2 separate regions of the Homo sapiens genome follow, and region 1 is linked to region 2. The links are contacts of gene promoters, found by promoter capture Hi-C in blood cells and fetal thymus (Javierre and others, 2016). All regions are on one chromosome and are shown on one strand. Each heading gives the region's core, a stretch centred on a gene start or on the middle of the fragment in contact. The rest is flanking DNA. Distances are from core to core; before and after follow the strand shown. Region 1 has its middle 32 kb from the start of PNMA8B. Region 2 holds the start of AP2S1 (adaptor related protein complex 2 subunit sigma 1).

Evidence for each region. Contacts are between HindIII fragments. The CHiCAGO score rates a contact against its expected background, and 5 or more counts as called.
Region 1: a fragment that was not itself captured here is called in contact with the fragment with the promoter of AP2S1 in region 2 in 1 of 17 cell types (total B cells); the score reaches 5.8 in total B cells.

The regions. Positions count from the first base shown.
Region 1 is chr19:46,526,002-46,529,499 of GRCh38, forward strand. It overlaps the pseudogene PPP5D1P. Among named protein-coding and RNA genes, the nearest start is that of PNMA8B, 32 kb to the left of the region's middle. The HindIII fragment of the contact is 4,232 bases long and covers 1-3,498 here.
Region 2 is chr19:46,848,732-46,852,301 of GRCh38, forward strand. AP2S1 (adaptor related protein complex 2 subunit sigma 1) reads right to left here and starts at 2,115. Exons shown (of 5, transcript NM_004069.6): 1 at 2,033-2,115. The coding sequence starts at 2,035. RefSeq lists an enhancer at 2,130-2,439. The HindIII fragment of the contact is 13,627 bases long and covers 1,754-3,570 here.

The DNA of each region.
Region 1 (3,498 bases), core at 619-3,118, 320 kb before region 2:
GTTTTATGGCACTTAGCACGATTCATTTTGTGACTTGTTCATCATCTTATCTGCCTCCTAGAATATCAGCTCCATGCGGACAGGAAGGGTTTTGTTCATAGCTGTACCCCCAGTGCCTAGGACAGTGCCTGGCACATAGGAGATGCTCAATAATCATCTGTGGGATGAATGGCTGGACCTTCTCAGCACCTAGAGGTGAACCAGACACAGCCTGTGGGGGCGGGGCTACTGCCGGCAGAGAGGGAGGGAGGAGAGGATGACAGAGTGGCCAAGAAGCCAGCATGGAGAAGGGCCCGGGCAGGGGTGATGCTGGTGGGTAGGGAAGGTGTATTAGTCCATTTTCACATTGCTGATAAAGACATACCCGAGACTGGGTAATTCATAAAGAATAAGAGGTTTAATGGACTCACAGTTCCATGTGGCTGAGGAGGTCTCACAATCATGGTGGAAGATGAAAGGCACGTCTCATGTGCCGACAGGCAGGAGAGAATGAGAACCAAGTGAAAGGGGAAACCCCTTATAAAACCATCAGATCTCGTGAGACTTACTCACTACCACGAGAACAGTATGGGGGAAACTGCCTCCACGATTCAATTATCTCCCACCAGGTCTCTCCCACAACATGTAGGAATTATGGGAGTTACAATTCAAGATGAGATTTGGGTGGGGATGAGATTTGGGTGGGGACACAGCCAAGCCATATCAGCGGGGTGTTGCAGCTCCTGACCTCGCCCATTGGGAATCATGAGACGGAGCTTTGGGCTGCGGATGGAGCGCCCTGGAACACAGGCAGAGGAGCGACAGACAGCAGCCTGGGGGCAGAACAAGGGGCTACCCTTGAGCCCACCCCCACCCCCAGGGAATGGAGAAGGCCCGTGTGGAATGTTCTGGGCTGGAGCGTGGAGCATCCAGGCCTGACTCACTCATGCTCTCGATGTCCAGCGAGTCCACCACGGAGCGCTTGTGCTCGTCGCCTGCGATGGCCCGCTCAAAGGCCTTCTGCTTCACGATCTTGTTGCACTCCTGGTATTTCATTTTGGCATCCTTGTCGTGGGGCTTCACCTTGACCACCTGGGTGGGAGGGAAGGGGCGTGCACACTGAGGCCGAGGTGGGGGCACAGCGGCTGTCCCCAGGCTGCCCAGCCCTGGATTCCATGAACGCGGAAGTCAGGCTGCCCGGGCACCAGTGCTGATGGTGCAACCCTGGACATGTTTAACCTCCAAGTCTTGGTTTCTGCACCCCAAAACTGTCCATAGCTAAGCTGCTCACACCGGCACACTTCATCAACCTTAGCTATAACTACATTAAAATCAAACACCTTGCCCGTCTGAGGACCATGGGCTCAGCTCCTGGTCCCCCGTGGGAACCAGTGCAGGCAGCGACAACTCCAGGCTTCCCAGCCTTGGACTCCAGGACTTACGCCAGCTGCCCCTCAAATCCTCAGGCCTTTGGCTTCGGACTGAGAATTACACCGTTGGCTTCCCCAGTTCTGAGGCCTTCGGACTTGTTCTGAGCCACACTCCCTGCATCCCAGGGTCTCCAGCCTGCACACAGCCTCAGGACTTCTCCGCCTCCATAATTGAATGAGCCAGTTGCCCAATAAACCCCTTCTCCTATCTCTGTCTACACATATCCTGTTGATTCTGTCTCTTTGGAGAACTCTGATTAATATGCTTCCTCTATGAAACAAACAGGGCTGTTCCTAGCCATCTCCCAGCCCCTAGGGAGATGAAACGCCATGGCATACCTGGCCACCGCAGGGCTCAATTAAGATGAGCTGTAATTATTATTATTATTATTACTTTGAGATGGAGTCTCACTCTGTCACTCAGGCTGGAGTGTAGTGGCGCAATCTTAGCTCACTGCAACCTCCATATTCTGGGTTCAAGCAATCCTCCTTCCTCAGCCTCCTGAGTGGCTGGGATTACAGGCGCCTGACACCACCCCCAGCTAATTTTTGTATTTTTAGTAGAGATGGAGGTTTCACCATGTTGGCCAGGCTGATCTGGAACTCCTGACCTCCTGCCCACCTCAGCCTCCCAAAGTGCTGGGATTATAGGCATGCGCCACCGCACCTGGCCAAGGTGAGTTGTCATTATTCTTCTTATTGTTATTCCCACAGCCCTGGAGCCTGGGGCTCTGTGCCTTCTACTGCCTGCCAGACAGCGAGGGGCCTGGGCCAGCAGGGCCGTTCTCCTCCGTGCCAGCTCAGTGCCAGGCCCCTCTGGCTGCCTGCCCAGCCCCAGGACTCCTGAGAGCCTGGATCCGGGGTCCTGGGGGGTAAGGGGCCCCTCCCAAAGGCTGCTGTTGCCCGGAACTCTGACGCAGCCTCAGCAGCAACCCCCAAGCAGGCTGCTCCCATCCCAGGGAAGTCCACCTTCCACCCCATCACCCAGCTGAGACTGAGCCTCATCCTGGACTCCTCCCGACCCCTCAGCCCCCACAGCCCGGCAGTCACTTCACTTCTTCTGCCAAGTCGGCCTCCTGAACATCTCTCAGATCCAGCCATTCCCTTCTCACCCTCCAGCCCCACCCAGCCCTGACCTGGCCTCTCCTGCCCACGTTCCTGGCTCAGCCTCCACCTGGCCTCACAGCCTCTTGTCCTGCCCTTCCAGAGGGGTGTTCCTAAGGCACAAACCTGACCCTGTCCTTTCCCTACTCGGAACCTCCCAGGGCTCCCAGAGCCTCCCGCAGAAAGCCCTGGCTCTCCCCACGGCCCTGCGTGATCTGCTCCCTGCAGCTTCATCATAACCCCCACGCACACACACTGCAGCCCCACTCACCGCCTCCATGCTAGGCTCCGCTAACCTCTGGAACTTTGCCACCAGGTTCTTTCTGCCTGAAGGCCAAAACCATCAACCCCCTAGGGAGACCCCCAGGCATGCGTCCAGAGACCCAGCATCCCCCATCCCTCGTCCACTATGTCACCCCACTGTGAGAGCTGAAAGGTTGTTTCTGCCCATTCAGGGACAGAGCCTACCCCAGGAGGCCCACTAGATTCTCAGGCCCACCAGGGCCCATGAGTGGCAGGACCCACACTGGGGGACTGGGAGCTGTGACCCTCTAGGCTAACGGGGAACTATGGGAGCTCTGCCTGGGGACACAGGGCCCCAGGCCTGGGCCAGTTCAAGAGATGAGTGGCTGGCAGCTCCCAGCAGATCACCAGGCTGGGGACGAACCCTGAGGGTGAGAGAGACTCCTCTCCCAAACTAGGAGTGGGCTAGGGTCCTGGACTTTGCCCCAACATCCCCCTCCCACGCCCTGCACGCCTTCAGCCCACACCATTCCACGCTTTCAGCCCACGCCTTCTGCGGCCTCCCCGTCGGGTCCAGCCTCAGCCTCACCCGTCCCATTCATCCACATGACATCGCAAACTTGACCCTCCCCCTCCCTTATTCCAAAATTTTCTCTAGTTCCCCAGTGCCCCGGGAACAAGTCGGGTTCCTATGAAGCCCTGTATCCCGCAGTCCCACCTTCTCCCCAGTGTTAAGCTCTAC
Region 2 (3,570 bases), core at 865-3,364:
TTCAGACAGTCTCACTCTGTTGCCTAGGCTGGAGTGCAGTGGCACTGTCTCGGTTCACTGCAACCTCTACCTCCAGGTTCAAGCGATTCTCCTGCCTCAGCCTCCTAAGTACCTGGGATTACAGGCGCATGCCACCATGCCCGGCTAATTTTTGTATTTTTAGTAGAGACAGGGTTTCACCATGTTGGTCAGGCTGGTCTCGAACTCCTGACCTTGTGATCTGCCTGCCTCAGCCTCCCAAAGTGCTGGGGTTACAGGCGCGAGTCACTGTGCCCAGCCTTTTTTTTTTTTTTTTTTTTGAGACAGAGTCTCACTCTGTCGCCTAGGCCAGTGGCACAATCTCGGCTCACTGCAGCCTCTGCCTCCCGGGTTCAAGCGATTCTCCTGCCTCAGCCTCCCAAGTAGCTGGGATTACAGGCATCCACCACCACACCTGGCTTATTTTTGTATTTTTAGTAGAGACGGGGTCTCACCACGTTGGCCAGGCTGGTCTCGAACTCCTGACCTTATGTGATCCGCCTGCCTCAGCCTCCCAAAGTGCTGGGATTACAGGCATGAGTCACCGCCCCAGCCTGAGAGTCTTTCCTAAGCCTCATTCTCCACACACTCTATCCTCCCTCCCCCAACCAACCAAACTGGACCGGAACAGGATGTTACACTCTCCTTCCAAGAACTCCTGCTGAGCCAGGGAAAACCACTTCCTAGCAGGGCAGGGGTCCCAGGCAGGAAGGGACGTTGGGGGGCCTACACCAGGCAGCCACAGCCTGGGAGCAGAGCCGGAGACATATTCACACAGTTAGGAGAACTAGAAGCAAACCCACAGAGTTGACAAAAAGCTCTGCCTCTTACTCCCAAATTCCCTTGTATACCTCTCCCTGTTTTCTTCCCATTTGGAATCTCAAGTCCCCTCCGTCCTGAATCTCTGCATCCTCACGCCTCTGCTGTCCCCTCTAGATGCCCCCCAACCTTCCCTGTCTCCAATCCCCCTCCTCTGGAGTTGTTCCCTTTTGACCTCCACTTTCTCAGTCTCAGTTCCCCTCCTTGGGGCCTCAATGGGCTTTTTACTGGTGACATCCCTTGTCCCACTCCCAAGCTTCCTCCCTTCTTCAAAAGGTCACATTTTGCCTCCAAGGACCCTGTTCCTGGAGGAGACTCCGCCCCCGCTCTGACACTCTTTCTCATTCGTTTTCTTTCCCAACTTCCAGCCCAAAGAACCCTTTCCTAGATCCAAAGCCCCAACCTGGGGGATAGGGGCACTCCTAAATCCAATGTTGAGTCTTTGCCCCAACAAAGATTCCTCCCCAGGTCTCACACTTTCAAGCCTACTCCCCACCCCACAAGATCTCTCCTCTTGGAAAGACCTATTCAGTTGCTCCCCATTCTTTCCGAGTGTCCATCTTACCTCCAGGTCCTCTCTCCTTTTACAGCGCTTTCCCAGACCCTTAAGTTTCATTCCCTACAGTTGCCTCCTTTTGGTTTCCTGTGCCAGGTCTCTTCTTGAGATCATCCCTCTCTCACAGGCAGTCTCCTGCCCCTGTCTCAACATCCCCTCTCCACCTGCAATCAGATCCTTGTCTCTAGAGACTCCTCCCATCAAGAAAACCTCCCTCCCCTTTTCCAAGGTCTCGCGTTCTCGTCCCAGCGCTCCCGCCACACTTCCAGAGCGCCTTCCTCTTTCGGACGCCCTCTCCCCACCTCCAATGCCTTCTCGCTACCCACAAGACTGTGTCTCACGAGTTTCCTCTCGTTTCAAAGCTTCCAACCATCTACAACGTTTCCCACCTGCACAGCCCTTTCCCCTTGGAACACCACCCCCAATGCCCGTCGCCGCGAGACCCCTGGTAACCCCCGCGCGCAGAATCACCGCCCTGTGCCCTCCTTCCCGGCCCTGGATCGGTCCCAATCCCCAGAGCCCGCGCCTGACCCAGACCATCCGCGGCAGAGAAGGGACTTGTCAGCGCCCGATCCAGCCTCGGCTATTTACGCGTGGGCCCCCCCTCCGCCAGTCCCCGGCGTAGCGCTCCCCCGTTACCATGGCGACCCCCGTCCAGACCCCAGCGGCCCCGGTCCCGCGGCGACTGGGCAGCTCCGGCTCAGGGTGCAGTTGTAGGGCCCAGAGCTAGAGCGGACTTCCGGTAGAAAAACCCGCCTGCCTTCTCGCGCACAGACCCCTGGGAGTTGTAGTTTCACCAAAGGGGCCAGCCTGGGTGAAGATGGGTGAAGAGTCAGAGCCAGTCCTTTTCCTACCAAACGAGTCAGATCCCAAGTGCATGCTGGGATTTGTGGACAAACATCTTTACAGAGGACTACAATTCCCGAGATGCTGAAGAACCAGCGGTGAAGGCGTTGCATTCAGGGAAATGTAGTTCTCTTAGGTCCCCTCCCCCCACCCAGGGGAGAAGGGCATGCTGGGAATAGTAGTTTTAAATTTTAAAAAACTGTCCTGGGGAGATAGAAAATGTCTTTCCATTCCTCATCCAGTGATTTCTTTAATTTTTTTAAAAATAGAGACAGGGGTCTAGATATATTGCCTAGGTTGATCTCGAACTCAGCTTCAAGCGACCCTCAGCCTTCCAAATCACCAGGATTACAGGCATGAGCCACCACAACACCAAGCCAGTGTTTTGCTTAAAATACGTTGCGTGTGTCTCTCGGGAGACAACAGTTTAAAAGCATAAATTTGAACCGGCCCGGCGCGGTGGCTTACTCCTGTAATCCCAGCACTTTGGGAGTCCGAGGCAGGCAGATCACTTGGTTAGGAGTTCGAGACCAGCCTAGCCAGCATGGCGAAACCCCATCTCTACTAAAAATACAAAAAATTAGCCAGGCATGGTGGTGCGCACCTGTAGTCCCAGCTACTCGGGAGGCTGAGGCAGGAGAATCACTTGAAGCCCGGAGGCAGAGGTTGCAGTGAGCCCAGATCTCGCCACTGCACTCCAGCCTGGGCAATAGAGAGAGACTCCAAAAAAAAAAAAAAATCTCTAGTTTGGCGGGGGCATGATGGCCCATGCTTGTAATCCCAGCACTTTGAGAAGCTGAGGTGGGTGGATCACCTAAGGTCAGGACTTCGAGACCAGCATGGCCAACACGGTGAAACCATTTCTACTAAAAATATAAAAATTAGCTGGGTGTGATGGCAGGTGCCTGTAATCCCAGCAACTCGGGAAGCTGAGGCAGGAGAATTGCTTGAACCTGGGAGGCAGAGGTTGCAGTGAGCCGAGATCACACCATTGCACCCTAGCTGGAATGACAAGAGCGAAACTCTGTCAAAAAAAAAAAAAACCCTCCAGGTCAGCAGTTAGTTTAGTGTTTTTTTGGTGTGTCTTTGTTTTTGCTTTTTTCTGAAAGAGGGTCTCCCTTGGTCACCCAGGCTGTAGCGCAGTGGCATGATCTCAGCTCACTGAAGCCTCAACCTGCTGGGCTCAAGTGATCCTCCCACTTCAGCCTCCCGAGTAGCTGAGACTACATACACATGCCGTCACACCTGGCTAATTTTTTGTACTTTTTGTAGAGACAGGGTCTTGCTATGTTGCCTAGGCTGCTCTTGAACTCCTGAGCTCAAGCGATCCT